Regions from separate parts of the Homo sapiens genome. Here region 1 is linked to region 2. The links are contacts of gene promoters, found by promoter capture Hi-C in blood cells and fetal thymus (Javierre and others, 2016). All regions are on one chromosome and are shown on one strand. The core of a region is centred on a gene start or on the middle of the fragment in contact, and the rest is flanking DNA. Distances in the headings are between cores, read along the strand shown.

The links. The method cuts DNA at HindIII sites, captures the fragments that hold promoters and counts their contacts. A CHiCAGO score of 5 or more calls a contact.
Region 1: a contact is called between a fragment that was not itself captured here and the fragment with the promoter of RSPH4A in region 2, in 1 of 17 cell types (neutrophils). The highest score is 6.4, in neutrophils.

What each region holds. Positions count from the first base shown.
Region 1 is chr6:116,072,589-116,076,711 of GRCh38, forward strand. It overlaps a transcript of FRK not described here. Among named protein-coding and RNA genes, the nearest start is that of FRK, 14 kb to the left of the region's middle. The HindIII fragment of the contact is 1,171 bases long and covers 1,690-2,860 here.
Region 2 is chr6:116,613,750-116,618,065 of GRCh38, forward strand. It overlaps RSPH4A (radial spoke head component 4A), which reads left to right and starts at 2,730. Exons shown (of 6, transcript NM_001010892.3): 1 at 2,730-3,560. The coding sequence starts at 2,875. RefSeq lists enhancers at 2,780-2,879, 2,930-3,049. The HindIII fragment of the contact is 5,584 bases long and covers 1-4,316 here.

The DNA.
Region 1 (4,123 bases), core at 1,025-3,524, 540 kb before region 2:
CAGTTACACGTGTTTCCTTCCCCTACCATGATGACAATGTTCCAGATGAGGGGTGATCTATTAGCCTGCATTGTTGGCTAAGCAAAACATGGAAGAGCTTCCACTGACCTGATAGGTACATATAACCTAATTGAAAAATAACCTTTGTTGTTTTAGGCCTCAGAGAATTAAGGGTTGTTATCCTGTAGGAGTTTAACCTAACCCATACTAACTGATAACCTAGATAAGGTGAGATATCTGTGGAAAGTATAACAGGGAAGAAAAACATCCAAAGAAATAGTAAGTAAACTGCTGGTAAGATTAGCAAAAGGCTTAGGGTGCTCCCTGGAAAATAAAATATCCCTCTGAAATGGATGCTAGAAAATGTAATGTGTTTGCCATGAGGAAGTTTGTTATGTAATTTTAAAAATTTTTTATGTGTATGTGTGACATTTAAAATATTGAAAGAGAAGACTGGCACCAGAAGAATGTATCAATATGTCTCCACTGTACCCTGATTTTAATTATGAGTTAGTATTGCAGAATTTTGGTAAGAAGAAGAAAGGGTCACACTGGTATATCAAGGTGAGGAGATGATCTGCTTGATACACTCAATTTCTTTATTCAGATTCTCTATGCTCTAAGTAACTTTATTTTCTCTGTCTTGGACTTCAAAATGTGTCTTATCAGCTCTGCCAAGAATACTTCTAATTTTATACTTAGAAATTCAAGAATGGAGCACTAATTCATGTAACAGAAATTTGATGTGCAATGACCTTGACTAGAGAAATATTTATTTTCTTAAGTGATGAGTTTCAGCAATTATTAAGTAATTAAACATCTCCCTAGTACACCAGAAAAATTTCAGTGGAGAAAATCAGTCAGTGATTTACAAATTCTAACTGGAAACAAAGAAATGTATTGAACTTAACAGCAAACAAAATGCATCAATATGTAACAACAATAATAAAATTAATTTAGCAGAAATTATTGTTGAGAACATTAAATAACAAAAGCACTAAACATATTAAAAATGAATAGGGAAGCAGCAGGTAAGTGATCGCCACTTAAAACTCTCGCAAGAAGCCTCTACAGCCCATGACTTATTTTCCTTGTACATATTATGTAGGAAACTATTTTTCAGTTCATGCAATAATACTTACACTCCATTTTTCCATTAAAATGTGCTCATAAGTATTAATCAATTCCCATAACAGCAAAGAGATAGCAAAGAATTATCCAGAGTTGACAGACTGAGAGCTTGAAATGATGTTTGACTATAATGCCAAAGACTGCTGGGGGAATTAATAAGAGCTGACACGAGAGTTCCAAATTCTGGCTCCTGGCTGCTGCCAGGGTGAAGGAAGCTGTGAGCAAGTTAACTTATCCTGTCCTCTGCCCACCACATTGACACAAAGGAGCCAAGAGCACCTGCTTCTAAATTACCCCTGCATGATCAGCAAAGCTACTGCAGACGCTCTTTCTATCTTAGCTCTTGGTGTCTCAGAGTTAGGTATTTCACTTAGAAAAGATTAAGAAAATCTTCAAATCCACAATTCAATGACCTGGGTCAAGAAGTCCTCCACAGGTCTGACTTAGAGCTTAAGAAATAATACTGTTATATCCTAAAGCTAAAACCAGGAGACTGGGGGTGACTCATCTGTCCTCATAATGACTAACACCTTTGTGTACATGCTTTTAATGTTAGGAAGCTTGAGATTTGTACATGGCATACTGGTTACCAGGGACTGAGGGTCTCCAGCTCTGCTGGACTTTCAGTTTTAAAACTGAGGAAGTCCCAGGCAAACCCAAATGGTTGGTCACCCTTCTTCTGGGTAATGAAATATGCCATGCTTCTTCATTTTATGTAACTGATGAAACTAACGTAACCAGTTGTCTTATTTCTTCGAGTAATCAGATATACATGGGGCAAAATTAAATTTGAGCAAACACTTTTAAATTATTTATTTAAAAATATATTTTAGTGAGTTATGGCTACATTTTCATAGATAGCAAAATTTCACTAACAATATTGAAACTGCCATGAGGTAGGACCATCCATATATATCAAAGCCTATACCAAAAACTTGTCTTGAGATTATTTCTTTGCATAGAAGTCAGACGGGAGGAGTCTAATTCCCTTTGTACCATCCCAGGTCCACTTCTCATCTGTGGCCCTCAGCCAACCTACATCACAGCCCTATGAAGGGATGTGAAAAACTTCCTAATGCTCTCCAGTGCCATACCAGGGCACAAGAGAATCTGAGGGGCTGCCCTTAGTTTTCTATGTCATGCCTGTCCCTCTGTTGTGCCATGCTGTGTTCCCTTTGACTTTATGCCTTGACATTATGGCCTCCTAGGGTTACAATCTGGGAAGCCAGGCAGCAATATATACTGCTCTGGGACCTATCCGATTCCCCCTCCCTTGTGAGTGCTCAGAGAGAAGGAGAAGGGCAGAGATTAGGGTCATTTCAATCATCCAAGGGGGTTTTCAGCTCTCACCAAGGCCCCTCTGATTCTCTTTTTCCCACTTGCTTGTTGAACTCTTCTCTCCTTTTGGAAGAGAAACCAGTTCTTACATGTCACCATCCACTCTTTCTCCACTGTGAATCATGAACAGATTCTATGCTAGGTCCCAGGCTTTGGCTTCTCTATAATTACTTTCTATTTATGTGACTGTGAGTAAGTATTTCTTTTTAAACTTCTTATGCCCAAGTCCTCATCTGCAAAAATAGGGATAATTATAGTATCTACACCATATGGATCATTGTGAAGATTATATGAGTTAATAGGTATAAAAGGCTTACGAAAATTTTGACACAAAGTAAGCCCCCAAAAAAGCTAATAGTATTTTTGATTTTGGTGTGATTATGCAAATGTAAGCTTAAGAGCTGGGGGAAAAAAAAAAAAAAAAAACCTGGAACTTTTTTTCCTCCCAGAAGTTGGTACAAAGACTTTTCATTTTAAGATGATTGTTTCAGTCAAAGGATCAAAGGCCCACTTTTAAACTCAGGTGAGAAATTAACGCTCTTCATTGGGGTTCTTTTGTGCCCTCCTTTCCCTAGAGACCTAGACCTCAGTCTTTGGCTCTGTTTTTAACAATAAAAAAGTGCCCCACCACCACCCACAATTAAGGAGTAAAGGGATGAAATAATACCAGGATGATATTACGGTCCTTTGCTAGCTGTGTGACCTTGGCAAGTGGCATAAATTCTGAGCCCTACACTTTACAGGTGCTCAAAGAAGGCTGTTAAGGCTGGACTGAACAAAGTGAGGAGAGTGACAAGAGGTGACAATGAAAGATAGAGGGATGAGATCTGCAGGGCCTGTAGACTGTAGAACACAAAAATTTAATGAGATGATAAATGTAAAATTTTGGCACATATCAACTCTCCTTAACATTGATTCCTTGCATACCTTGACATTGACTTCTTCCTGGAAATTCCTTCTGCAACACAGAATTTCTCATCCTCATCTTCATTATTGTTTTCTTAGTGCTCTTCTTGTTTTAAGTATTTTAAATTGAGTCACTTCGTTTATAAATGTCCATTTTCTAAGTGTCTTGCATATCTGTTTCTGTATGAGAACTCTCACCAAAAGTTTATATGATGATTGCCAGATGATAAAAGATTTTTCTGAAATTATTTAAAGGAAATTATTCATTTTTTTCTTACAGTATGTTATGATGGATGTCATATATATGCAATGTATATCAAATTTATTTATGCAAATATAAAATACTAAACAGCAAAGTTCAAAATGATTTATTTTCTTTAAATTATTTGAAAGTATCCTTTTCTATTGGACCACACTTCCTTTTGTATTTCACATATTTTAATTTCAACTATTGAGTCATTTTCTTGATTTTAAAAATGATTTCACCATTAGATTTTTGCTATCTTTTTATAACAAATGAGAAATTATTATTTTTTTCATCCATTTCAGCCCTTGTAAAAGTATAGCAATGATAAGGAAGCAAAGGGTATGAAATAGCTTATAAACACCTTGCTGAATTGTTCCTGATTGGTCAATGACAGACATGTCTAATATCATTGTTGCACTTATTTTGAGGATGAAAGCTGATAAGTGAGCTTAACTGCTCAAGGGTCACACATTTCCAACCAATTCTCATGTGTTTTTCTTT
Region 2 (4,316 bases), core at 1,480-3,979:
ACAACCAAACACTAGACACTTACATCAGAAAAAAAAAAAAGAAATCTCAAATAAATAATCCAAGTTTCCACTTCAAGACACTAGCAAAAGAAGAGCAAAATAAATACAAAGTAAAGAGGAGCAAACAAATAAGAAGAGAAATCAATGAGATTGAAAACAAAAATAATAGAGAAAATAAATAAAACCCAAAGCTAATTTTAACAGTGTCCAGTAAGATTGATGGACTTCCAATAAGACAAAGAAAAAAAGAGAGGGCAAATTATCAAAATCAAGAATGGAAGAGGAGATATCACTACAGACCCCACAAACATTAAAAGGATGAGAAGGGGATGCTGCAAAGAACTCTGCAAACATAAGTTCAACAACTTGGATGAAATGCATAAAATCCTTTAAAATTGCAAACTACCAATATGCATCCAAGATGAAAGAGATCATCTGAACAGTCCTATAACAACTTAAAAGTTTGAATTTGCAGTTTAAAAACCGCTTGAAATAGAAGTTTCCAAACTCATACAGTTTCACTGTAAATTTTACTAAACATTTAAAGAAATGACACCAGTTCTATATAATCTATTCCAGAAAACAGAAAAGGAGGAAACACTTCTCAACCCATTTTATAAGGCCAGCATTATATGACACATAATACAAAACTGGGAACATAAGTAGGCTAAGAGCTTTAGTCTTTATCTTAAGAACAGTAAGAAGCAAATTTAGGATTACTAGAGTCAAAGTCAAGATAAAGCTCTGGACTGAAAATGAAGCAGGAATAATAACGGACACTTACATTGTTCCTTTCAGGTGCTCTTCACTCCTAAACTGGAGAGATAAGCAAGCTATGTCTGTTCCTTCATGCGTTCTTTCTCCTGGCCCTACTACCCTTCTCTGGCTTGTCTTTTTTTCTTTTCTTTTCTTTTTTCCTTTTCTTTTCTTTTTTCTTTTTCTTTTCTTTTCTTTTTCTTTCTTTCTTTTTTTTTTTTTTTTGACACAGGCTTTTCTGACTCCAGCCTGGATAACAGGCTGTCGTCCAGGCTGGAGTGCAGTGGCACGATCTTGGCTCACTGCAACCTCCGCCTCCTGGGTTCAAGCAATTCTCCTGCCTCAGCCTCCGGAGTAGCTGGGATTACAGGCACTCGCCATAATGCCCAGCTAATTTTTGTATTTTTGTAGAGATGCAGTTTCACCATGTTGGCCAGGCTGGTCTCAAATTCCTGACCTCAACTGATCCACCTGCCGTGGCCTCTCAAAGTGCTGGGATTACAGGCATGAGCCATCTTGCCTGGCCCTCTGGCTTGTCTTTCAAAGAAAAAACACAAAAGTGCTGGGATTACCTGGTGAAAAAAAGACAAACTGCTTGGATTACAGGTGTGAGCTACCACACCTGGCCCTCTGGCTTGTCTTTCAAAGAAAAAAAAAGCCTCCATTACAGCTTGCCAGCTGCAAGGGAGAAATTAAGGGGGAAAAAATGCTAACTTCCTCAACTCTTGCACCAATTACCAAAAAACCCCAGAATTTATTGTTCTAGTTTATCTTAATGTTCTGTTTTTAGAAATCCAAGCATTCTAAATCCCAGACATTTGACTTTAAAGAGTCTCTGTACCAGCAGAAGTTATATTCAACATTTTGTGTGTGTGCACACAGTTTTTATCAAATTATTTTAGTCTGTGATTCCCTCACCACACTGAATGGAGGAGTATTATGTTCTTCCATGAAGTTAGAATTTAGAGCAACATCTTGCTAAATAGAAGCTATATCAATGTAAACTGTCAAATGCCAAGTATTTGTTGGTATATTTAGAAAGAGAAAGAAATACAAAACAATTAACATTAAAGACTTTAATTAATATATGGTTTATAGTTAAGTCCAGATATGGTCCAATCTTCTATACCTTCTTCATATTGGAGACTGTATACTATAAATGAATAGTCATAATCTTGAACTTAAATCATTGCAAAATTATGCATTTACATTTACATTATCAAATAAAAATTATATTATGCCAATATAGTTTAGTGTTAATTTGAATTTCAATTATTAGAAAACGGGTAACCCATGAATTGCCTATTTATAGGTTTTCTGCATTGCCTTCTCAAGTATAATATTCTGCCTAATCACCAGGAGATTCCTTATAAGCAGGAAGAACAAAACTCAGGACTGCTTTGTCTATTCTCCGAGTCTTTAGAGTTGGTTGGTTGTAGCTGATGCACGCTAAATGTGAGGCTTGGGGTCTCCTGGTCAGCACACTGGGGTCCCATTGTTACCTGCACCTCCGAGATTACCAAGGTCAGTCTCTTCCTCCCTCTCTACCCCTCACTCTCCTCTCTCCCTCCCTCCCTTCCTTCCTCCGTTCTTTCCTTCCTTCCTTCTCTCTCTCTCTCACACACACACACCCTCCACACACACGCTTCATGAATACACTGTCCCTCCACTAACGCACGACTCGCTCCTCACAGCACAACTTGGATCAGTCTCAGACCCCTAAAGGTCTCTCGCATGGGGTCGCCATTCTTCCTACTTTGTGCTCAAGGCGCAGGATCTGGAGTTCTCGGTTTCCAAGCAAGACTGGTCGAGTCTAGGTCGGATTGGCTGCGATAGAACGAGGGGCAGGGGTTGTACCGAATCACAAAGCTAGGATTTTCATCTCTCTCTCTCGTTCTCTCTTAGTCTCCGCCCTCGAATCCTGGCAACAGGCGCGGTGAGTTTTTCTGAGAGGAACCCGGCCTGGGGTTGCTATGGAGATAGGACGCAGCAACTCACAGAGCAACCAGGACCCAGAAATCGCTTAAGAGACCGCGGCAAAGTAACTTAACTGAGTTGCCTTCTTCCATATTTTCACGCCCCTTTCATCCAGAACATTTTTTTTCTTGAACTGCTTCCATGGAGGACTCAACCTCCCCGAAGCAAGAAAAAGAAAACCAAGAAGAACTAGGGGAAACAAGGCGGCCATGGGAAGGAAAGACAGCAGCTTCTCCCCAATATTCTGAGCCTGAGTCGTCTGAGCCCTTGGAGGCGAAGCAGGGGCCAGAAACTGGACGCCAGTCCCGAAGCAGCCGTCCTTGGAGCCCGCAGTCTAGAGCCAAGACGCCTCTGGGTGGCCCCGCGGGACCAGAAACATCATCACCTGCTCCTGTCTCTCCGCGGGAGCCCTCTTCCTCTCCTTCTCCCCTGGCTCCGGCCAGACAAGACCTCGCGGCACCACCTCAGTCGGACAGGACCACGAGTGTGATTCCTGAAGCTGGGACACCTTATCCTGATCCTTTGGAACAATCATCTGATAAAAGAGAATCAACTCCTCATCACACAAGCCAGTCAGAAGGAAACACCTTTCAACAGTCTCAGCAACCCAAACCCCACCTGTGTGGACGAAGGGACGTGAGCTATAACAACGCTAAACAGAAAGAGCTGAGATTTGACGTTTTTCAGGAGGAAGACTCAAACAGTGACTATGATTTACAGCAGCCGGCGCCTGGGGGCTCTGAAGTGGCCCCCAGCATGCTTGAGATCACCATTCAGAATGCTAAGGCTTACCTGCTGAAGACTAGCAGCAATTCGGGCTTTAATCTGTAAGTCTCAGAGGGAAAAAAGATAAATGTTTGGCAAAGCAAGAGGGTGTGTGAGTATCTCTGTGTGAGAGTGTGTTTCTGTGGGTGAATCAAAATATATTTGAAAGATTGTGTTAGTAAAAGAGAGTTAATGACATAACTCTGGATCACATGACTCAAAACAGGTCATTAATGGAGATTCTTGTACCTTCTTTTTCTTAACCTTTTTTTTTTTTTGTCCTTTTCCTCCAGCTTCTTTAAAGACCCTAGGCACACAACAAAATAAAACTTAGGAATTATGGAATCTCGGGCTTGAAAAAGACCATAAAGACCATAAAGTCCAAGCATCTCTCCAGGATGCTTGTGAAAAATAATTGTCTACCAGTGAAAGCAATCACGTCTCTCATCTGTAGATGCTATTGCTTGCATGGCTTTTGAGTTCCCAACCCAGGCAGTGCTAGGGTGACCACCATCTCAGTTTGGCTGAGCGCTGAAAGTTCTTTATCCTAAGAAACCCCTTAGTCCTCGCAAACTCGGAGAATTGGTCACTATACAAGCTACCTGGAACACATGCCATTTTATCCAAGTCTCTTAAAATGTGATGATCAATAGTCTACATATGTTCTGCCCATCCCATTATAGCTTTAATTTTAGAACTTATGACATGTATAGATTTCTATAGATTTTTGCTTCCAGAGTTACATAATGATAGGGTCAGTAGAATTTTAGGGCTAGAAGGGCTTTTGGAAAACATCTAATACAACTCATTTGTTTTTG